Linked DNA regions of Homo sapiens: regions 1, 3, 4 and 5 are each linked to region 2. Evidence: promoter capture Hi-C in 16 types of primary human blood cells and fetal thymus (Javierre and others, 2016). All regions are on one chromosome and are shown on one strand. The core of a region is centred on a gene start or on the middle of the fragment in contact, and the rest is flanking DNA. Distances in the headings are between cores, read along the strand shown. Region 1 has its middle 54 kb from the start of LINC00941. Region 2 holds the start of OVCH1 (ovochymase 1). Region 3 has its middle 14 kb from the start of LINC00941. Region 4 has its middle 6.3 kb from the start of LINC00941. Region 5 has its middle 34 kb from the start of LINC00941.

Evidence for each region. The method cuts DNA at HindIII sites, captures the fragments that hold promoters and counts their contacts. A CHiCAGO score of 5 or more calls a contact.
Region 1: a contact is called between a fragment that was not itself captured here and the fragment with the promoter of OVCH1 in region 2, in 6 of 17 cell types (non-activated CD4 T cells, naive CD4 T cells, M1 macrophages and 3 more). The highest score is 8.5, in non-activated CD4 T cells.
Region 3: a contact is called between a fragment that was not itself captured here and the fragment with the promoter of OVCH1 in region 2, in 14 of 17 cell types (total CD4 T cells, naive CD4 T cells, activated CD4 T cells and 11 more). The highest score is 17.0, in total CD4 T cells.
Region 4: a contact is called between a fragment that was not itself captured here and the fragment with the promoter of OVCH1 in region 2, in 3 of 17 cell types (total CD4 T cells, naive B cells and total B cells). The highest score is 9.2, in total CD4 T cells.
Region 5: a contact is called between a fragment that was not itself captured here and the fragment with the promoter of OVCH1 in region 2, in 8 of 17 cell types (naive CD4 T cells, activated CD4 T cells, naive CD8 T cells and 5 more). The highest score is 9.5, in naive CD4 T cells.

Annotation. Positions count from the first base shown.
Region 1 is chr12:30,847,202-30,851,692 of GRCh38, forward strand. No RefSeq gene overlaps it. Among named protein-coding and RNA genes, the nearest start is that of LINC00941, 54 kb to the left of the region's middle. RefSeq lists enhancers at 1,138-1,682, 4,131-4,480. The HindIII fragment of the contact is 1,485 bases long and covers 580-2,064 here.
Region 2 is chr12:29,495,972-29,500,444 of GRCh38, forward strand. It overlaps OVCH1 (ovochymase 1), which reads right to left and starts at 1,715. Exons shown (of 26, transcript NM_001353179.2): 1 at 1,652-1,715; 2 at 585-703; 3 at 210-307. The coding sequence starts at 1,715. The HindIII fragment of the contact is 1,885 bases long and covers 265-2,149 here.
Region 3 is chr12:30,807,486-30,812,166 of GRCh38, forward strand. No RefSeq gene overlaps it. Among named protein-coding and RNA genes, the nearest start is that of LINC00941, 14 kb to the left of the region's middle. The HindIII fragment of the contact is 7,474 bases long and covers 1-4,681 here.
Region 4 is chr12:30,787,036-30,791,739 of GRCh38, forward strand. No RefSeq gene overlaps it. Among named protein-coding and RNA genes, the nearest start is that of LINC00941, 6.3 kb to the right of the region's middle. The HindIII fragment of the contact is 3,423 bases long and covers 492-3,914 here.
Region 5 is chr12:30,827,291-30,832,075 of GRCh38, forward strand. No RefSeq gene overlaps it. Among named protein-coding and RNA genes, the nearest start is that of LINC00941, 34 kb to the left of the region's middle. The HindIII fragment of the contact is 412 bases long and covers 2,513-2,924 here.

The DNA.
Region 1 (4,491 bases), core at 72-2,571, 1.4 Mb after region 2:
AAACTCTAATCCAATATTTTTCTCAACCATAGTTGTAGTTAGGAGGACCTATTTACACATGCTTCCAAGTCATAATAACTCTACTAGTCAGAAAAGCCTCCAAGTTAACCCTAGGAAATAATTTAACTGTTTACACTTCACATAATGTGTGAGGATTACTGTCCTCTAGGGGGAGCTCTTAGCTAACAAACAGCTGGTAAAGCAAGAAGTACATAAGGCAGGATAAGCAGTCGTCACTCTTAACGTCTCTCCCCAGGCACAAGTGCTGAATTAGCTGAGCTAATAGCTCTTACAAGAGCACTTAAATTAAGCAAGGGGAAGGTAGCTGCCATTTATACTAACTCCAAGTATGCTTTCTTAACTCTCCATACTCATGCTGCGATTCAAAAGGAAAGGCATTTTCTTACCACTAATGAATCTCCTATAAAATATTGCCAGGAAATTGGCAGGTTATTATCCTCAGTTTTTCTTCCACAAAAAATAGCAGTCATGCGTTATAGGGGACATCAAAAGGAAACAGATAAGGTAGCCAAAGGAAATAGAATGGCTAATCAGGCAAAGCTAAGTCAGAGGCAAGGAAGCTTTAAGGCATTAATGCACTTCAAGCCCTTCTAATCTAGGAAGGCTCCAAAAAAGAAATTAAACATCAGTATTCCCCTACAGAAATAAAATAGGATCACCTTTATTTAACCCAGGAAATTTGGTATTAGTACAAACTCTCATCTCTGTCTCCTTCCCTAAGCCAAGCTGGGAAGGGCCCTACACTGTTCTTCTTTCAACCCCCTCGGCAGTAAAAGTTACAGGAATCGACTTCTAAATACATCACACTCAAGTCAAAGCCTGAAGAGCTGAGGGAGCAGCCCCTAACAGCCCAGAGAAATATCCTGAATATCAATGCGGAGAAAGAGATCTTTTTCTTTTTCTTGTTGTTGTTGTTGTTGTTCTTGTTGTTGTTGTTGTTTTTGAGACGGAGGCTCCCTGTCGCCCAGGCTGGAGTGCAGTGGCGCGATCTCCGCTCACTGCAGGCTCCGCCCCACGGTTCACGCCATTCTCCTGCCTCAGCCTCCGGAGTACCTGGGACCACAGGCGCCCATCACCACGCCCGGCTAATTTTTTTTTTTGTATTTTTAGTACAGACGGGGTTTCACCGTGTTAGCCAGGATGGTCTCGATCTCCTGACCTCGTGATCCGCCCGCCTTGGCCTCCCAAAGTGCTGGGATTACAGGCGCGAGCCACCGCGCCGGGCCAGAAAGAGAAGATTTTAAGCTGAAAATCATAAAAGATAAGTAACTGAGTGAGGGCTACTCATCTTACTCAGTCCCACTCCTGCCTCACCAGATACTTTTTGCTATTTCTACCCTTTACTCTCAAAGTTCACCACCAAATATTAAAACTTCTTTTTAAAGCATATTTGCAGGCAGATTTTAATTATTCATAGAATCGCATTTGTAACTTTGTAGCTCCCCAAAGAGAAATGTTATATCTTGGTAAGTAAAGTTTTAAATGGAAATTATTCACTATGCCACTCTTGTAAGAACTGTTATACTCACGCTACTATTTACAATAGAACTACACACTGTAGCACCCAAGATGTGGAATTCTGGTTGTAAAATTCTAATTGCTGTAATATTTTGCCTAATTATCAACCTTATAACAGGATTGATAGTTGCAGGAAAGATTTAGTCAAAATTGTGTCGCTTATAGCAGGAGTAATAGTTGTGGATAAGAAGCAAGGATGAAAGTTTTACTATCATTACGTTTAATAGGACTTTTTCTGAAGGTTGGTAATATAATGTGCTCTAAGCTATAAAGAGAAGATTATAAAGGAAGATTTTATGTAAGAAAAGATTTTCATTGGTAAATACTTGTCCTAAAAGGAAATGACTGGTTGTTTAAAGGATGAATGCTTAGGGCAAGTCAGAAAGTTTAAGTATGTTGTAAGAGGGTCTGTGAAAGTCATGAAATTATTAAAGGAAAGGAATTGTCAAGATTAACATTAAAGTTATTTTAGCCACCCACTAATGTATTTCTCCCAAGCATATTGCAAGTTAGGAAAATGGCCTAAGCTTAAAGTTATTCTCTAATGGCAAGTCAAAGGGGAAATGTATGGTTTTCTCAAGGAAAATGTTTCTTTTATATTAATGTTTCTGGTAATGTACAGCGAGATACTGGTATTGCAATCCATGGTGTAACTAATAGGTATGAAACTCAGGGTCTATAGGACCCCCACTCACGGTGGTAATCTTAATACTCACATTCTAACCCTATATTTTAAATTTTCTTATAAAATTTATCTCTTTTCACCTGGAAGCAATCAAACTCCAAACGGTGCTGCGAGCAAAGCCACACGTGTTTGAAATGCTTGTAAAGAAATAGCACTTGAGCATCAGTTTATTTAGTAAGGCCATTTTTACTTCTTGCAGAAAGGGTACACTCGCCAGCAGTTTTGCCAGGAGAGTACACTGAACAAAGGAGACAGGGTCATTTATAACCTGACGCGTCCACCCTACTGCTGTGTCCAGTTTCCAATAGCTGGAATGGGACCTCACATTCTGTATTTGTCCCGATTGGCTAGCAACTTAGAACTTTTTAAAAGAGGCAAAGGTAGAGGAGAACAAAAGAAGGAGGAAGTAACTTGTGGAATGCTGGGAAAGGTAAAAACACTTTTAAATAAGGAAGAGGAACAGACTATGATCTAATGCTTGCTTGGACCAGTATAAGCATGCCAGGGCAAATATTTAGGCTAAATTGTGGGAGCTAAGAACATAAATTACATTGATTTCTTTATTATGGCTAGCAGATATTTAAGAATGTTAGCACAGGTCTTTGAATAAATTTTGCTTTTAAGAGAAGTTACTATTTATTTCTTATTAGACGGGGCGGAAAGTCTTTGAAGAGGAACCTCTACTTTACTTTTTACACATGGTCACGCCATTCTTCCAAGAACCCTTAGATAAACCTCAGGAGAAGGCACAACTGCTGTTCCCCACACAATACCCCTTTTCAGCAGGAAGTAGCCAGAAAGAATCGCCATCCAACACCCCCTGACAGCAGTTAGGTTTGCTTCTCTTGAGCGGGGGAATGATACAGGAGTTACTAAGAAATAATTTTTAGGCAGATAGAAAGGGTAAAAGGAATTCTCGGTAAGGCTTTTTCTTTTAATAAAAGCAACCCCAGACCTTTTCTTTTCTTTTTGAGACAGTCTCACTCTGTCGCCCAGGCTGGAGTGCAATGGTGCAATCTGGGCTCACTGTAACCTCTGCCTCCCTGGTTCAAGTGATTCTCCTGTCTCAGCCTCCCATGTAGCTAGGATTATAGGTGCCCGCCACCAAGCCTGGCTAATTTTTTTTTTTGTATTTTTAGTAGAGATGGGGTTTCACCATGTTAGCCAGGCTGATCTCAAACTCCTGACCTCAAGTGATCCGCCTACCTCAGCCTCCCAAAGTGCTAGGATTACAGGCATCAGCCACCGCACCTGGCCAAATCATTTCTTTTCTAACAGAAAGGCAAATTAAAGGGCCAGGCTGGCAAGCTTTGATATGCAAACGCAGGCCATTAGAAGCTGAGTCCACCCAATATGGTGATTCGTGCCTTCTTCTTGTCACCAGGTATGCCAAGTGTCATGGCCACCTCCAGGTAACTGCATGTGTTCAGGACATCAGAGCGGCCCACATTTGCACATTAAAAGGATAAGGTGGGAGGGCCGGGTTTTTCACGGGCTTCGTGAATGACACACCTGGTCAAACCAATCCCCTGGGCCCTCTGTGGGCGGCAAGCCACCCAGGTGACGAGGCAAGAGACTAAAAGCACAAGCTATTCCAGTATAATAAAGAAAATACTTAAAATAAGAATAGTTATATTAGGCATAGAATATAGATATGATTATATATGAATATTACTAATCATTAGTTTATAGCATTACTCTTTATTCTAATATTATAATAATCTTTGTTCTACAATTATAACCTAGGAAAAACCAGGACATACAGAGATAGGAGCTGAAGGGACATGGTGAGAAGTGACCAGAAGACTAGTGTGAGCCCTCTGTCACACCCGGACAGGGCCACTAGAGGGCTCCTTGGTCTAGTGGTAACGCTAGTGCCTGGGAAGGCACCCGTTACTTAGCAGATCGGGAAAGGGAGTCTCCCTTTCCCCGGTGGAGTTAGAGAAGACTCTGCTCCACCACCTCTTGTGGAAGGCCTGACATCAGTCAGGCCCGCCCGCAGCCATCCGGAGACCTAAACGTCTCGCTGTGATGCTGTGCTTCAGAGGTCACGCTCCTGTTTCACTTTCATGTTCTGCTCTGTACACCTGGCTCCGCCTTCTAGATAGCAATAGCAGAATTAGTGAAAGTATTAAAGTCTTTGATCTTTCTGAGAAGAGCATAGAAGAAATAATGACGTAAGCTGTCCTCTCTCCAGCTCGGCTACCTAAAAGGGAAAGGCCCCCTGTCCGGTGGACACGTGACTCACATGACCTTATTAATCACTG
Region 2 (4,473 bases), core at 465-2,964:
CTGGGATTGTTTAATTCAGTAGAACAGGAAGCACTGGGAATCTTGGGACAGACACACATTTCTGGGAATCAGGAAGATCAGTGGGTGGGTACACTGGGAGGCAAAAGTAAGAAAGGGACTGAGAATGAACCTGCTATTTAGAGCAACAAATCTGCCAGTCGCATAGCCAGGAATCAAGGCCTGACAAGTAATGGAAATCCACAACTTACTCACTGAGGCTGTCCAGGCAGTGTGCTGCTGTAACAACCCGATCTTCTTGAATCAAGCTTCCTCCACAGAAGTGGTGCTCATCTGATTTTAGGGAGACCTACCCAAGAAGAAAGTTACAAATGCAGCTAATATGTCTCCCCACATATGTATCTCCATCGGAAACACTGGAGATCAACTTTTCTAATCTGACATAATATTCTTAAAATACCGACATAAATTGGATAGTAAGATAGTTCCTACGAAGTAAACTTTTTGGTAGAGAGCTAGAGGGGTTCAGGAGAAAAACTACATATCAACGTGCATTCTTGCTTTCGAAACAAAGGAAATATTTCACTGTTTTCTCATTAAGAAATCAATGCCTTTGTTGCACTGACCTGCCATGGATGTCCAGTCACTGTTGAATTTCTCCAACTACTAATTCTAGAGAAGAATCTAGATCCCACGGCAGGTTCCTTACTTTTCATGTTGACCATGCGAATTCCACACTTCAGTCCTGTGTAGAAGAGCATGTGTGTGTGCACACACAGAGCCTTATGTAAGAGTTCACTTTACCAAGATTTCCCATTTGGATTTTCCTGGCCTGGCACAGACATTCTGATAGCACTTAGCTGCAGACTACCACATTCTTCTCTCAATATTTTCTTCAGAATATCCCACAGTCACCTGGGTTGACCGGAATTTGCCTCCTGTCTGCTCCCTTTCAGCCTGTGTTACCACTGGGCAGGAAGGAGCCAGCGCTGCCTCTGGTAGGTGACTTGGGGCTTACTCTGGGAAGATGCAAATTTAGGTTGTGTTAAAGATACCAGGAGCCACATGCAGTGGTTCCCGCCTGTAATCCCAGCACTTTGGGAGGCCCAGGTAGGCTGATCACTTGAACCCAGGAGGTCAGAACCATGGGCAACATGACAAGACCCCATCTCTACAAAAAAATGTAAAAATTAGCCAAGTGTGGTGGTACGTGCCTATGGTCCCAGCTACTCAGGAGGCAGAGGCAGGAGGATCACATTAGCCCTGGAGTTTGAGGGAGCCGTGATCGCATCACTGCAGTCCAGCCTGGGTGACAGAGCCAGACCCTGTCTCAAACAAACAAACAAAACAAAAGATACTGAGGAATGACCTATACTACTCCGGAAGGGAGATATTTGTCTTTAAGTTACTTCTACTTGGTTAGGTTTCCTTGGAGGAGGCTCCTTAGTACACACATGATTAGCAGGTGTGCCTACAAACGAACTCTAAAATGCAAAAAATTTCAAAAAGGCAGTCTGGCCCAGACCTTCCTTTGGGGACATCTGAGCATGCACCACCCCCTCACCCTTTCTTCCCAAATGCCTCAGGTGTGGCTATACCACCCCGACTTCCTGAGGCAAGGAGTAATGAAGTCTTCCCTCTCCAGCACGCTCAGCCTCCTCCGCAGTCCTGGTGCCCAGGTCCCTAGGCTCACCTAGGCTTCTGGGGTGGCCGATGACCAGCAACAGCAACAAACCAGCACTGGCCAGCAGGCCCATAGCCTCCACGCACCGGCCTCGCACGTCCTCCCTCCCTGCAGGCTGAGAAAACTGTGGTGAAGGCGGGGGTCTCGCCCTTTATCCCCTCCTGCGGTGCCTATGGGCAGCACCTGCCGTGGCGCCTTGGTTCGCAGGTGTCCCTCTTCACGATCATTTGATCATTGTGAGCTGCCGCCGCTCTCTGGTCACCCCTGGTGTCACAGTGCCCCGCCACCCAGCCTTAGAGACTGGCACGAGGTGGCCCAAGGGGTGACAGTGGTGCTCACACGTGTGCAGAGGTTCCTGCTAGCAGATCCACAGCAAGCCAATCAGTGGCCTGGAACGCTTAGCCCTGCGAATTCCCAGACTGGGGAGTGCGGTCCAAGCTCAGGGGCAATGAAGCTGGTCCCCCACACGAAACACAGGCAGGACTTCTGAAAGGCGGAGGGTCAGGAAGCTTAGTACAATACTGCCCCTTCTAAGAAGCTTGTTGCCCTTGACCCTCTAGAGTTTTCAAAGAGTGAATAGGAAAGATCAGGCTTGAGCTGACATCATTTTCTGGGTGGCAGTACTGTCCTCCATTTCAGCAGAATGGCCCCAAAACTGTAGGATCCATCATTTAAGATGATTAAAATTAATCTAGTGGTGAGATATCACTTTTTTTCCCATGAATATTATTTTGTAATAAGTTAAGCTGAAGTTAGAAGACAAAGCCAGAATTTGTAATGGTCTTATATTTTGTCAGAAAATTAAGGCAAGGCTAAGTGGACATTCCATATATATCAAATAACCTGGCCACCAGTCCTTCAGCACCAGTTGGAGGATTTTACGTTCAAGTGCTCTATTTTACTTTCATGTAAAATAGAAATAAAAGCTTCTTGAGGTAGGAGGGTACATAAACTAATGGGGGCAGGTGGGAGATGAGCAGGTAGATGGGAAAACAGAAGGCAGTCAAGGTGGAGAGAATGCAGGCACAGGTACAAGCAGGTGACAATCTACTGGGGACAATGACCTCTGTGACTGCAGGAGAGAGCAGAGGGTAAATGGACACCATTTGAAGAAAAGACTAAAAAAAGTGAATGATGCCTGTCGCTGTGGCATCTTCAAAAGGTGTCCATTTACCCTCTGTGGCTAGTGGCTACCATATTGAACAGCACAAATACAGAACATTCTGTCATCACCAATAGTTTTATGGGACTGTGCTGTTCTTGAGAGTAGCACTATTTTCTTTTGAGTATTTATTTCAAGGAAAGACACCTCGGATGACAGTTTGAGTAGATGACTCCTTAGTTTCATGCCTGGGTGTCTAGGGGATAGGGGGTGTCCAGCATGCTCTTAAGGTAAGCAGCTCTTCTGTGAAAATAAAACATTGAACCTCCAGGCTTCAGTACTGTCCAGGGAATGTCCAGATGTGTGGCTACCTGAACAGTGGCCCTCACCACTTTCCTCCCTGTAGTCATCACACAGGGGTGACCATTTGAACCACCATGCCAGCTCCAGGGCCACACCGTTCTCCAATAAAAGCTCAGAGCCCCCACATGGACCCAAAGCCCTCTTTCTTTTTAGCAAGAGGTAAGATGAAACCCACCAAAAAGCCTTTACTAAACAAAAGGGTAAGGACTAGAAGGTGAACATGTGCTGTGCAAGAACGGTCAGGCCAGCAATATTCAAGTTGCTGGTCAAACCATGGCCAGCCCTTCCGTGAGGCTCACAGGTGCTGTCCCCTTTCACTCTTCTGCCCATGGCACACAGCTTTGCAGCATACTCTGTGGTTTCTTTGTTTCAAACCTGGGAATCTCCATGCGGTGGGGCACTGTCTCATTTCCTGTTACAGAACAACTCCCTTTGTTTCCAGAGTTCAAAACCCACAGCTTCAACTGAGACCCTATTCTTATATACAAAGGTTTAGTCCCTTACAGGCCTCACATAATAATGCCTTTCCATTAAGTGGAAAAAGAGCCATTCAATAAGAATTACACACCATTAATAGCCAGGCCATAGGCCAGGCGCAGTGGCTCACGCCTGTAATCCCAGCACTTTGGGAGGGTGAGGCAGGCGGATCACCTGAGGTCAAGAGTTCGAGACCAGCCTGGCGGCCAACATGGTGAAACCCCATCTCTACTAGAAATAAAAAAAATAGCCGGGTGTGGTGGCACATGCCTGTAATCCCAGCTACTCGGGAGGCTGAGGCATGAGAATCGCTTGAACTAGAAGGCGGAGGTTGCAGTGAGCCAATATCGTACCACTGCACTCCAGCCTGGGTGACAGAGTGAGACTCCATCTCAAAAACAAACAAACAAACAAAAAAAGCCAGGCCATTAGTTTTAGTTTTAGACTCAAATTTTCTAAAAAAGTAATGGTTTCAATATAAATTGAGTTTGTAGTTATATTAAAACATCCAAATGGAAGAATCCTCTTTTTATGTTTAAAATAACTTCAGAAAAGGAAAGGATACCAAGGAGAGGAGTGGACTGGACTACCCCCAGACAGTGGTGACTTGTGATGTACAGCAAATCTGTCTTTAATTTGGACATCTTCACTAGTATAGGACAACTGTGATCTGCTATTCGAAAAGCTTGGCTGTGAAGGGCAGACGGAGATGTGATAGCAGCTACAGATAAAATGAAACAGAGGATTTTTTTTTTCAAATTGTTTCGGTGTTGATTGCCTGTGTATGTGCTTTAAGAAGAGTAGAACTGACAAATTGACAAGAGCCAGCAAAAGGAAGAAGTAAAAAGATGAAGGAGAAGTTAAGGCATGGAATGAAGTTCCATAAGAG
Region 3 (4,681 bases), core at 2,019-4,518, 1.3 Mb after region 2:
GGTTCATTCAACAGGTTCGTGCTCTGGGCAGAACACCCTAGGCAGCCTTCCTGCACTACTGCGATATTTCATTTGGCATCTCCCCATTTGGGCTGGGAAGCACTCTGATCATTTACTAGAACTGTAGCAAACCTGGGCTTAAAGTGCCATCTAGTGACAAAAAGAAGGCAGTGACCTAGCAAGGAAAAAAAAGAAGTCAACAGATAAATTACAATCTGTAAGCAAACATATCCAATAAAAACCAAAACAAGCCACACCAAGAAGACTGGAATAAAGAGCTAATCCTTAAATGAAAGACATAGATGTACATCCACAAGAAACAACAGCAATCAGGGAACCATGACTTTTTCAAACAACCAAACAAGGAACCAGTGACTGATCTTAATAAGATGGCAGGCAATATGTGAACTCTCTAAGAATTTAAAATAATAGTTTTTTTTTTGTTTTTTTTTTAGGCAGAGCCTTAATCTGTCACCCAGTCTGGAGTGCAGTGGCGCAATCTTGACTCACTGCAACCCCCATCTCTCAGGTTCAAGTGATTCTTGTGCCTCAGCCTCCCAAGTAGCTGAGATTACACGCATGCACCACCACACCTGGTTAATTTTTGTATTTTTAGTAGAGATGGGGTTTCACCATCTCGCCCAGGTTCATCTCAAACTCCTGGCCTCAAGTGATCTTCCCACCTCAGACTCCCAATATGCTGGAATTATTGGCATGAGCCACCATGCCCGGCTCAAAATAATAGTTTTGAGAAAACGCAGTGACCTCCAAGATAACACAGAAAACAAATTTAGAAATTTATCAGAGAAATTTAACAAAGAGATTGAAATAATTTTTTAAAAATCAAACAGAAATCTTGGAATTGAGCAATACATTTGCTGGACTAAAAAATTAATTACAGGCCCTCAACAGCAAAATGCATTGAACAGAGGAAAGAGTCAGTGAGCTTAAAGAGAAGCTATTTAAATATTCACAGTTAGAGGACAAAGAAGAAAAAAGAAAAGAAACAGATCACCTACAAGATACAGAAAATTACCTGAAAAGACAAAATTAAACATCATTGGTATTGAAGAGAGAGTTGAGGAAGGGCGAAGTGTAGAAACCTTATTCAAAGAAATAATAGAAAACTTTCCAAAACATGAGAAAAAGATAAATATTCAGGTACAGGGAAGTAAAAGAACACCAAATATTTTTTACCCAAATAAGACTAACCTAAGGTTATATAATCTTCAAACTCTCAAAGGTCAATGACAAACAGAGGATCCTTTCTCTCTTTTAAGAGAGGATCCTAACAGCAGCAAGAGAAAAGAAACAAATAACATACAAAGGAGCTCTAATTCATCTGGCAAGAGACTTCTCAACAGAAACTGTATAGGCCAAAAAAGAGTGAGATGACACTTTCAATGTGCTGAGTGAAAAAAAGCAGACATCCAAGAATATTTTATCCAGCAAAGTTATCTTTCAGATATGAAGGAAAGATAAAGTCTTTTCCAGACAAACAAAAGCTGAGAGAATTCACCACCACCAGACTCATCTTACAAGAAATGCTAAAGGTAATTACTTATTCTGAAAGGAAAAAACATTAATGTAAATAAAGAAAACATTTGAAGATACAAAACCCATTGGTAAAATCAAGTATACGGACAAACCCAGAGTAGTCTAATACCATAACTGTGTATTTATATACTTATAAATACTTATAACCCTAGTATGAATCCAAAAGACAAACCTATTAAAAACAATAATACCTACAGCAACTTGATAAGAGACAGGCAATATAAAATAAGTAAATTGAGGCAATATAAAGTCAAAATGTGTGTTGCAGGAGTGGAGTTAAAGTGTAGAGGGTTTTTTTCCTTGTTTGCTCCTATTTTTTGTGTGACCTAAGATAAGTTGTTATCTCTTTAAATTCACATGTTACACCTATGAGATGTTTTTTGTAAGCCTGATGGTAACCACAGTACAAAAACCAACAACAGATTCACTAAAAATAACAAGTGATCAATTAAAACATACTACCAGAGAAAATAACTACAAAGAAAGACAGTAAGAAAAGGAAGAAAGAGAGGAGTTACAAAACAATCAGAAAATAAGGAAGAAAATGGCACTAATAAGTCCTACCTTTTCAGTAACAACACTGAATGTAAATGGACTCAATTCTATAATTAAAAGGCATAGAGTGGCTGAACAAATAAAGAAATAAGACCCAACTATATGCCGCCTATAAGAAACCCACTTCACCTATAGAGACACAAATCAAAGATTGCAAAGAGACAAAGAAGGTCACTACATAATGACAAAGGGGTCCATTTAGCAAGAGGATATAATAATTAGAAATATCTGTGCACTCAACACTGGAGCTTCCAAGTATATAAAACGAACATTACTATCTCTGAAGGTAGAGATAGACTACAATACAATAATAGTAGCACATTCGCCACAACCGTAGAGCAAAGAAAAAAATTTTCATCTCATGACAAGATGAGAAAACTCATTTCAATATATTCAGAAAATCTTTTTTTTTTTGAGACAGTCTCACTCTGTTGCCCAAGCTGGAGTTCAGTGGCACAATCTCGGCTCACTGCAATCTCCACCTCCCAGGTTCAAGCAATTCTCCTCCCTCAGCCTTCTGAGTAGCTGGAATTACAGGCATCCATCACCATACCTGGCTAATTTTTGTATTTTTAGTAGAGACAGGGTTTCACCATGTTGGCCAGGCTGGTCTCGAACTTCTGACCTCAGGTGATCTGCCTGCCTCAGCCTCCCAAAGTACTAGGATTACAAGTGAGCCACTGCACCTGGCCCAGAAAACATATTTGATAAAACAAAAATTTTAAAAATTTTAAAACCCATCAGGTTTATTCATAGGATTCTAAATTTTATATGAAAAAGCAAAGGACTTAAAATATCCAAGACAACCTTGGAAAGGGATAATAAAGGTGGGGCACTTACACTACTGGACTTAAGACTTATTCTGAAGTTACAGAAATCAAAACTTTACTGGAGGTACTGGGATAAAGATAAACAAGTAAGTCAATGGAATAAATAGAGAACTCCCAAACAGATGCATACCATGGCCATTTGGTTCTTGACAAGGTGCCAATGGGAAAAGAAAATTCTTTAAGAAATAGTTCTGGAACAACTAGGTATCTCTCTACAGAAATAAATGAATCTCTACCCTTGCCTCACACCATACACAAAAATTAATTCAAGTGGAGCATAGACCTAAACATAAAAGTTATAATTATAAAGTCTCCAGATGAAAACAAAAGAATATCTTTGTGAATTGGACATAGGTAAAAGTTTGTTAGGATATAAAAAGCAATAAATGATAAATGAAACCTCATAAAAATAAAAAAAAATTCTGTTCTTCAAACACACTATTAAGAAAAAAGACAAGACATAGGGAAATATTTTGCAAGACATATATCTGACAAATAACTGATAAACAGAATATATTTTAAAAAAACTCCTGACCAGGTGGGGTGGCTTACACCTGTAATCCTGGAACTTTGGGAGGCCAAAGCAGGCAGATCGCTTGAGCCCAGGAGTTCAAGGCCAGCCTGAGCAACATAGTGAGACCCCGTCTCAAAAATAAATAAATAAATAAATAAATAAATAAATAAATAAATAAATCTCCTTAACTCAATAACAAAAAGACAACCCAACTTTTAAAAATAGGCAAAACATTTCAATAGACATTTTACAAATTAATATATATGAATGACCAACAAGAACATTAAAAAGTACTTAACATCATTAATTGTTAGAAAAATACAAATTAAAACCACAATGAAAAACCACTACACACCTACCAGAATGACTAAAAATAAAAACACTGAAACACAAAATGTTGGCCAGGATTTGCAACAACCTGAACTTTCATGCACTGTTGGTGGGAATGTTAAATTGTATAGTTACTTTGAAAAGATCTACCTGTTTCTTAGGAAACTGAATATACATATACCCTGTAACCAAGCTATTACATTTTTAGGTATTTGCCCAAGAGAAATAAAAAAAAATAGTCCACAAAAAGACTTGTACAAAAATGTCTGTAGAAGCTCTATTTATAATAGCCCTGAACTGAAAACAATCCAGGTGTACATCGGTAGGAAAAACTGTGGCAAATTTATAAAGTAGTACAAACTAATGTTAGATAAAATAGCATGAATAAATCTTGAAAATGCTATTTTGGTGAAAGAAGTATAACACAAAAGAGACATACTTTATGATTCCAATTTATGAAGTTAGATCCTTGTAAAACAGGCAGAACTAATCTATGATCTTGTATTAGTCAGGGTTTTCCAGAGGGACAGAACTAATAGGGTGTGTGTGTGTGAGTTTATTAGGGAGAATTGGCTCACACAATTACAAAGCAAAGTCCCATGATAGGCTATCGGCAAGCTGGGGAAGAGAGAAGCTGGTAGTGGTTCAGTCCAAGTCCGAAAGCCTCAAACTGGAGAGGCTGACGGTGCAGTCTTCAGTCTGTGGGCAAAGGACTGAAAGACCCTGGAAAACCAATGGTGCGAGTTCCAGAGTCCAAAAGCCAAAGAACCTGGAGTTTGATGTCCAAGGGCAGGAGGAGCAGAAGAAGGCATCCAGCACGGGAGAAAGAAGGCAGCCAGAAGACTCAGCAAGCCAGCTTATCCCACCTTCTTCTGCCTGCTTTGTTCTAGCCACA
Region 4 (4,704 bases), core at 953-3,452, 1.3 Mb after region 2:
AAATTTAAAAAAAAAAAAAAAGATAATAATAATAATAAAAAATAAGGAGTCCAAATGGAATTATCCTGAGATTCTGTCAGATTTATCCTTTAGAAATTAATAGTTGCCTTTTATCAGAATTTCCTGGCAATGTAACTAGATTGGTGGCTCATATGCTTATCAAAATTTAGTAGGTTAGATTTTCCAGGTAACATTACTTTCTTTCCTGATATTCTTCATAGGCTGGTTTTTACAACATATTTCTCCTGGTAACTAACTGTCTATTTAGCAGAGATTAAAAGCAGAACAATGTTCTTATTTTTTCAAGTATTTTATTTCATAAAAAGGAGAGTTGTCACTTCAATAATCTCTGACTAAATTAGGAGTTGGATAATATGGGTCTAAACTGTGTAATTTCATCTTTTCTTCATTTCCATAATGGTTCTAGGTCACATTTCTTACTAACAAACTTCTAAATTTTGTGCAACCTACTTAACTGAAATGAACCATTAAGCTTTGGCTTGTTACACATTTGCACAAATGAAGAAATGGCTTGTGAGCTTAACTCTAAATTGTGGTTCATTTAGAGAAGTGGTTACTGTATAATTTGTAGATTGGGTACTGAACTCAGTATTTTTGAAATTAGATAATAGAGAGCTAATAGTGACCCAAATGGAAAAACACACCTTATGTTCACTAATGAAATGTAAAATAGAATTCATCATTCTCCATGTGATGACAAAGAGCACAAAAGCAATGTGAAAATTAACTTAATTGGAAATATTGTAAAATTATTTTCAATATCATACGTTAAATTAAGGCGTTGCTTTGATTGCTAAGTAGATAATAGAAAAAGCCGAAGTGGTAAGCCTTGTTAGAATTTGTGCAAATGCTTTACAAATTGCTGATTTTCTAGTACCATCACAACATTTAATAGTGGTACATTTAATAGAAAGGCAGTTCAAGTTGAAATAGATGACAGTTAAGTAGATGTTTTGAACAAGTTGTTCAATAACTTCTCAAACTAAATTTCATCTTCTGTATCCAGAGAGCTAAAAATATATTCCCTAGGATCTAGCACTTTCCTTACACATAGTTGGTAGTCAGTAAACACTTGTCAAAAGTAAGGGAACAGATGAATACTACAAGATAATGTAGTGGAGTCTAAGCTGGTATTGCTCACTGCAGGACAGTCAATAAGTCACGAGACAAGGTGTTGGGGCAAGAGGGCAATAACTCAGTTTATCTGCTCAACCGAGAAGATGATGGACTAATGTCCTAAAGAACTGTCTTAAGGCAATGTGCATTTCCGGTCCCTTTATTGTTAAGGGAAGAGGGTAGAAGGAGATGGAGTTCAAGAGGTGACTGATGGTTATAGGCATCTGGGCAGCAGAGAGCATCTGAGAGGGAGTTGGAAAACTTCTTTGTCCTTGGTCAGGTCACAATGCTCCTATAAATCTTTAATTATATATTTCTTATTATTATTTTATTTTTTCATATACCGAGTGAAAGCTAGGATCCCATAAATCTTTAAAATAACATTGTTCCTTGTATGTACACACTCCTTACCTCCTTGGAGGTTAGTTTTGGGAAGGAACTAGCATCCTATTATCCTTGCTTTAAAGTTAAACTACAAACTAAATTCCTTCCATCATATCATTTTCTTGGCCTTCATGCAGAGATAATAAAAATTAGTTAATCTAAAAGGTACCACCTGGAGGGGGAAGGGGGGTGTTAGGAGCAAAATGGAGTTTGTTGAGCTAGGCCTCCTTTTCACTGTTACAAAGATGCTAGGAGAAAAGTTATCTCCTTGGCACTGGAGAGAAGTCTGGGTGCAAAAGAGAAACAAATTGAAAATCAGTTGTGATTCTTCTAGGATTCGTTAATTTCATCCTCCCAATCTCTTTTGCCAGTCCAATCCTCTCCCAAGAAGTCCAGATTCCAGCTCTTACTGGACGCCTCCATTTCAAATAGTGCAGCAAACAGGTTAAGAATACAGATGCTGAACCAAGACAGCTTAGGTTCAAATCTCCAAACCCCACTGACTTTAGCTGTTTGACCACAGGCAAGTTACTTTACTTCTTGATATCTCATTTGTGAAATTGAGTCAATAATAGCATATCTATCTTAAGCTGTGCTGGAAGGATTATGTGACTTAAGACATGTAAAGCATTTTAGGATAGTGCCCACATACCTGTGATAGACAGCTTCAGACATAGCTCCCAGTGGTCTCCACCTCTTGGTGATCAGCCCTTGTATAATTCCTTCCCCTAGAGTGTGGGCTGAGCCTAATGACTTGCTTCTAATACATGGAATTTGGCAAAAGTGAGGGTGTGACAGTTAATTTTTTAATGTCAACTTCATGAGGCTGAGGGATGCCCGCATAGCAGGTATAATATTATTTCTCAGTGTATCTTTGAGGATATTTCCGTAAGACATTGGCATTTGAATCAGTAGACTGAGTAAAGAAGATTGCACTCACCAATGTAAGTGGGTATCATCCAATCCATTGAGGACCCAGATAGAACAAAAAGATAGTGAAAGGACAAACTGGCCAGGTGCTGTGGTTCACACCTGTAATCCCAGCACTTTGGGAGGCTGAGGTGGGCAAATCACTCAAGGTCAGGAGTTCAAGACCAGCCTGATCAACATGGCGAAATCCTGTCTCTACTAAAAATACAAAAATTAGCTGGGCCTGGTGACGGGTGCCTGTAGTCCCAGCTACTCAGGAGGCTGAGACAGGAGAATCGGTTGAACCCAGGAGGTGGAGGCTGCAGTGTGCTGAGATTGCACCACTGCACTCCAGCCTGGATGACAAAGCAAGACTCCCTCTAAAAAAAAAAGGACAAATTTACTCTGTTTCAGCAAGGACATCCATTTTCTCCTGCCGTTGAACATCTTTGCTTCTGGTTCTTAGGTCTTCAAGTTTAGGGTGGAACTACACTACTGGCTTTCCTGGCCCTCCAGCTTGCAGATAGCCTCCGTATCACATGAGCTAATCCCTCATAATACATCTTGATATAGATATAGATATAGATATAGATATATACACACACACACACACACACACACACACACACACATATACATATATATCCCATTGGTTCAGTTTCTCTGGAGGACCCCAACTAATACGGATTTAACATGGCTTCTGTGATTAGGTTACTAAAGACTGTGACTTCCATCTTGCTAGCACTGTGTCTTGCCTTCTCTGATGAAGTCATGCCATGTTGTGAGCTGCTCTATGGAGAGGTCCATGTGGCAAGGAACTGAGGGAGACCTCTGGCTGACAGTTTGTGAGTAAATGAAACCTTAGTTCAACAACCTGCAAGAAAGTGAATTCTGCTGGCAACCACCCAAGGGAGCTAGGAAGACAATCCTTCCCAGTTGAGTCCTAGAACTGCAGCCCTGCAAGAGTCCCAGAGCTAGAGGACCCAGCTACTCCACAACTAGATTTCTAATCTCCAGAAACAATGAGATAATAAATGCTGCTTTACGCCACTAAGTTTCAGGATAATTTGTTATACAATACTTAAGCATTCTATAAACGTAAGCTAGTAACAGACATCTCAAATTCCACATCTCCTCCCCCACTATTCACACCTCAGTAAAGGGAAAACCACCATCCATCCAAGTTGATCAAACCAAAAGCCTAAAAAATCATTTTTAATTATCTTTTTCTCAATGCCTTCTCCCCTAAATAGACCAACTTCAATGAATATCTGAGTAAGAGTGCTTCAAGAATAGAAAGTTCAAAAGCCCTTAAGCCAAAAATAAACTTGGGTTATTTTAAGACAAAAGAGAGACATGTTATAGAACTGAACTTCGATCTACTCACCTGGCTCAGTAAAGCCAATCACTGACACTGGGATAGCAGTGAGAGAAAGTGAGGCACTGATTGCAGGGCGTCAAGCAAGCAGAATCAGGGCAGCTCAAGCTTAAGACCTGAACTCCCGGATGGCTTGCAGGCTGGGATTTTTAAAAGCAGGGGTAGATGTAACCTCCATGTATTGTTTTATGATTTTGCCTGTAGCACAGGCAAAAGCTACAGGCAAAATTGTAAATCAATGCATGGAGGTTACATGTTGGCTTAGGCCTAAAAGGGCGGGATATCGTGAAGCAGGCTTACATGTCATAGGTAGATTCAAAGACTTTCTCATTTGCAATTGGTTTAGGAGGAAAAGCTTTTTAAAAAAAAAAACTGGGATCAGCAGAAAAATGTCAAGCAGAATGATATAGTTTGGCTCTGTGTCCCCAGAGCCCCCAGGGGACTGTGACATTCTCTAAGCCCCTCTGGAAAAATTTTAGGACAAAGAATGTGGTCAGAGTTCAGTTTTCAATTTCCACTTATCTGAGGTCTACAGGCCAGCAGATCCATTCAGTGAGGGCCCTGAAAGACAACTCAGGGACATATGTTAAGATGTTATCTTTAGTTTCCATAAGGAAAGCAAACATCTCTGGAACTCTAACTTCCTTGGCTATTGCTTTAGACTACTATTACCTTTTTGTTTGACAAATTTCTTATTTACTTCTGGGGCTAGCTAGGTTCCTGGAATTTCCCTTTAAGGAACTCCAGATTTTTCTTTATTTCCATGCTTGGGGTTTTCAGGCCTCTAGAGAGGGGGCTCCTGCTCCATCTCACCCCAATGCCCTCAGTAATCTCGCCCCTTGCTTTCCTCTCTAATTCTGTTTTTATATCATTCTCCCTCTTACTAGCAGTTCTAG
Region 5 (4,785 bases), core at 1,469-3,968, 1.3 Mb after region 2:
CTCTATGTCGGTGGATGGATTGTGGTGCAGCTAAATTTCCAGTGTGTTCAAACTCCATCTGCACGGGTGCCCCACAGCTTAAGCCTGTTTGGTGAGGAGACATCTGTGGCACCAAAAGAAGATAGCTCAGGCAGATCCTGCAGTTGCTGATTCTTCAGGATCCTGGGAAGAGTTCCTACTCAGCAGTATTTCCTAGATCCACCTTATGACATTACCGACCTTGCTAAGGCTCTCGCCTGCCCAGGAAGAGTGGGCAGCCCTAGTGAGGGGCCGTTAGGGCCAGGGGTAGGAGGTACCAGCAGTTGGAGACAGGGAAGACTGACTGATCTCTCGGGGATTTGTCCCTCATCCTGGGGACCATCTATCCTGCTGGGTGGTGGCTGGCAGCCTGTCCAAATGTATGAGCCACCAGAGGGTCAAGTAGACGCAGGGCAGGACCGTCTTCTGGGAGATGTGTCCCCCTAAATTCTTCTGTCACTTCAGACATTCCAGGTAGAAGGAGGCCCTTTGACCTGCAAAGCCAGCCAGAGAACCAGGAACAGGGCAGGGAAAGAGCATGCTAGCCTGAGACGGCTCACACCCAGCTGGGGCGTGAGGAGCAATGTCTGTGGCCCCAGGCACACCTCCTTTCTCCACCCTGTCACCTTATCTCTGAGACATACTGTGCAGCATATGTCCAAGGCCCATCTGGGCACATCCTGCCTTTGGAATTCTGTTTCGCCACTTTGAAAATCTGCCCAGCCCACTTTGGGGAGGTTGTTTGAGTCAGGTTTCCATGATCTCTCAATCAACCCTCAGCACTGACCGGTGTCCCCTCAGAGGGGACCACTGGCCACATCTGGAGAGCAATGTGTGTGTTTAATAGTGAGGCAGAGCAGAGGGAGCCCGTCTTCAGGGATTGCCAGATGTCTCTCTTGTCCTCTTCTGGGGGTGTCAATTGTTGATTTTCATCACCCCGGTAGGAGAGCCTGGAACACAGAACTCTTGGGGCTCGTTCCTGGAGGCTGAGAAATGCCACTGCGTAGGGACAGCTGCCACCCCCAGAAAGCAGTTTGCTCTTTTCCTTAGTGAAGAGATCCTCCCCCTGCCCCCCCATATTGTGCTTACATACAGGTTGATGCATTTCCCTCCCAGGAAATTCCACCGTGCCCCCGGCATCACAGATGTCTCCAGACCTGCTGGTTGGGAGTTTCCAGCTCCTCATCCACAGCCTGTCCTATGAACTTGCATTTCAGATTTAGGACAGTGAAGGCAGTCTCAGGTCAAAGGTGTCAAGAGAGTTGAAAACATTCTAGGCCCTTTAGGTTCTTTCAGGGAAAGGCCTCGGCTCCTGTGTTTGCATGTGTTGCTGCTATGTGCCACAGCTGCTCTCCAACTTTAACCCAGACTTATCAGCCACCCCCCATTTCTCCCTGCCCTGCCAACCTCTTCATCACCAAGGGCACATAAGCAGCTGCCTACAACAAGCATACAATCATTCAGTCAGCAACTAGATGCACTGTAAGGAATCTTGGGAGGTATTAAGTCAATGGCATCCAGGTCTTTTGATGGTGACTCACAGTGAGAATATATTTGACACATTCCCATCACGCACGGATGCACCTAATGGAATCTTGCATTTCAGTATCTCAGCTGGAGCCAGCCAGGCCAAGAGGTATTCCGTCCAGGGAATCTCCCTGACATGTTTTCCTTGGATGCCATTCTCTACTCTTGACCATGTTGCTGGCAGTTTCTTGGGTCATTTCTCCATGTCGGTGGATGGATTATTGTGCAGCTAAATTTCCAGTGTGAATACATTGCACACTGGTAAGTTCTAGTCTACTTCAGTCTGTTCTCATTCATTAAAATATTGATTTCACAATCCCTAGTGTGTCGGCCTGCAGTCTGAGAGGCACAGTTGCCTTTTAACCTCCTTTTGCAGATGAAGCCATCAACTTGCTGGTCCCTGGTGCAACCCCCACCCTGAGGAGAGACACTGCTGCCTTGATCTTCTGTGAATCCACCCTTGTTCCTGGCACAGTGACTTTGAGTCTTTACAGACGTGCAACAGCCTTTGTTGAGTGAGACCTCACATTCTTATGCCTCCAAGCCTTGCTCTCATTCTCAACTAGTCAAGCCCTCCCTATTATATTTCCTCTTAGACAAGTCACCCCTACTCTTGCACTTCCAGCTGTTTGACCTTGTGCATCGTACATGTTAAGCTCATCCTGCCCTCAACCTTCTCTGAATGGCTGTACCCCTCAGGGTTTGTACCACCCTGTGGGCAATTAGTTAGAGCTCTCCATGTTATCTTCCTCTTCTGAGACCCTCTTAGCTTCCTAACTAGTTTGGAAAACCTCCTTGAGTATGGGGACTGGTTTATTCACAACCTATCAGAGTGCCTGCATGCACCAGGCACTCAAGAAGAGCCAAAATGGGTTAAAGCATACACTTTTCCTGACTTCTAGGATAGGTGGTTGTGCATGAGTTTGTATTCCCCAAAAATCAATTTAGGGAATGTCATCTCTTAAGAAGCTTCCAATGTTTCTTTTGGTTTTGTGTTGACTGTGTTTCATTTTGTCAGGAACATGAAGGTCTATCACCCCCACCATCCTATTTTGCTGATGGGGACATGAAGGCACAGGGTGGTTGATGGATTTGTCAAGAGCTCCTTGTCTCTACTATTTCCATGCTTTTCCTTATTCACTAGATTCTTCTTTCTTCATCAGGGGGACAGGAGACACTTCTGCTACTCCTCCAACCCAATTCTGGACCAGAAAGCTCTGGACCCCAGGAAGCCACATGCTGTGCTAGCTTGTCTGGAGCCTTTCCCCCCAACCCCCTGAGGGGCCCGGGGCCTCCCTCCCTTCACCTCCAGCCACACCTTTCCTTTCTTCACAAGCCTAAAAAGCTAGTCCTTCCTCAATATAAAGTACTTTCAGGAAAGCTTCTAAAAACAGTGTGTCTTTAATGTTTTTTAATGTAACCCACTGTCATCAAGGCATTTTACAAGGAGACTTTCTAGATACACACACATATTGGCAATGAACCAAATGTTTCACCACATAATACTAACATTTGTGACTTTTGATGCACTCTGATATTTCCTATTGTGCTACACTGTGCAATTCTTTTAAAGGGCTGACCAAATTGATGTCACGACCTCCTAATGGATCTAGGTCTGCAGTTTAAACACTCTACTCCAAAAATTCCAGCAAGAACAAAAATCTCAGCCCTAGATTTGCCAACAGTGTCCTTTTCTGGGACTTTATTATAAGGCTTTGCATAAAAAATTTGTTAATTGTTAATATATGGATGTGTGCACTGAGTCTCACTGGAAAACATATTGATGACTATTGGTTACAGCCTAAAAAGAATGCTTGAAAGTTTTCCTGGTGAGGAAAGGCCAAGCTAAAAAAGGGAGTCGTGTGTGTGTGTGTGTGTGTGTGTGTGTGTGTGTGTGTGTGTGTGAGAGAGAGAGAGAGAGAGAGATATGGGTGTGGTCCCATCCCCCTAATGAGATGCCACATGCTGTGCAGATGTTTTATAATATTTGATCTCCTCTTCTTCCCAAAATCATGTCCAGAGGAGAAATTCCATGGATCTGCCCCTGCCTCCCCCAGACCCTTCCCCAAACCTTGGCTGGCCTGGGCAGAGGACTGCAGAGCTCACATCTCTGTGGGGAACAGGCTGGACTCCCTGTGGGACTCAGGGTCTTCACTCACCCTTACTTCACATGTCTCCTCCTGAGACCCCTTGTCCTGACACACTACAGGTCTCTGGCTGTCTCAGGAGTGGCACGTAAAATGTCCGAGATCCAGACAAAAAATCAGAGACTGCCAACCCTCCTGCCCTTCCCTCAGCAAGTAAGGCATCACATACACATGCAGGCATGCACACGAGCACACAGGCACACATGCACATGTGCACACCAACACACTTGCTGTGGCCTTTTTCCTCCTAAAATCACTGAGGAAGCCATGGAGCCACAAAAGTGTTAAGATTAGGGTGAGGGTTTTACGTGGGAGAAGGGTGTCTGATTTGGATCCAAGAAGATCTGAGTTCTGACCCCCACTCACTCTAGCCCAAATCACTTAGCCCACCCTATGCCTCAGTTTCCCTTTCTATGAAATTGGGTTAACACATGCCCTGCCTGACTCAAAAGCTTCTTGTGAGTCACAAATATAGTAACAGATGAGATGATGCTTTGAGTATGCAAAGAACCAACTTGAAAGGAGGGTCCTGGGCCATACGATATAGGGCAGTGTGGCCCTAGAGAGAAGGCTGTCCCTCCCCTCCATTGTAGACAGCTGGGCCTTTGGGCCTTTGTTTGGCACAGCTGAGAAGTTCCTGATATCTTCTTCTGATAGTGTCTTTGAGCAAAGGATAGTGAGCCTGAGGCCCTGCTGAGCCTGAATCCCACCTGAGCTCCAGATCTTCCTATGCCAGGATGTGCCTTGGGAGGTAACACTTTCCCCACTGGGATGGGGGCTTTTGCTCACCTAGTCACAACTTCTTGAGGTGTGAGCTAAGTGTTCTTCCTTTTCCTAGCAGTGCTCAGCTCAGTACCTCCCTCCATCTTTCTTTCTATAGACCCTGCATGCTGGGGGCCACTTTATCCTCAAGCACCTGAGGGTACCAGGAAAAGATCCTGGCTTTGAGACACTCAGACAGGGGAGGGGCAGAGCTCTCTCGGGGCTACCCACCTGTATTTGTCTGTCCTTGTATTGCTATAAAGGGATACCTAAGACTGGGTAATTTATAAAGAAGAGAGGTTTCATTGGCTCACAGTTCTGTGGGCTGTAG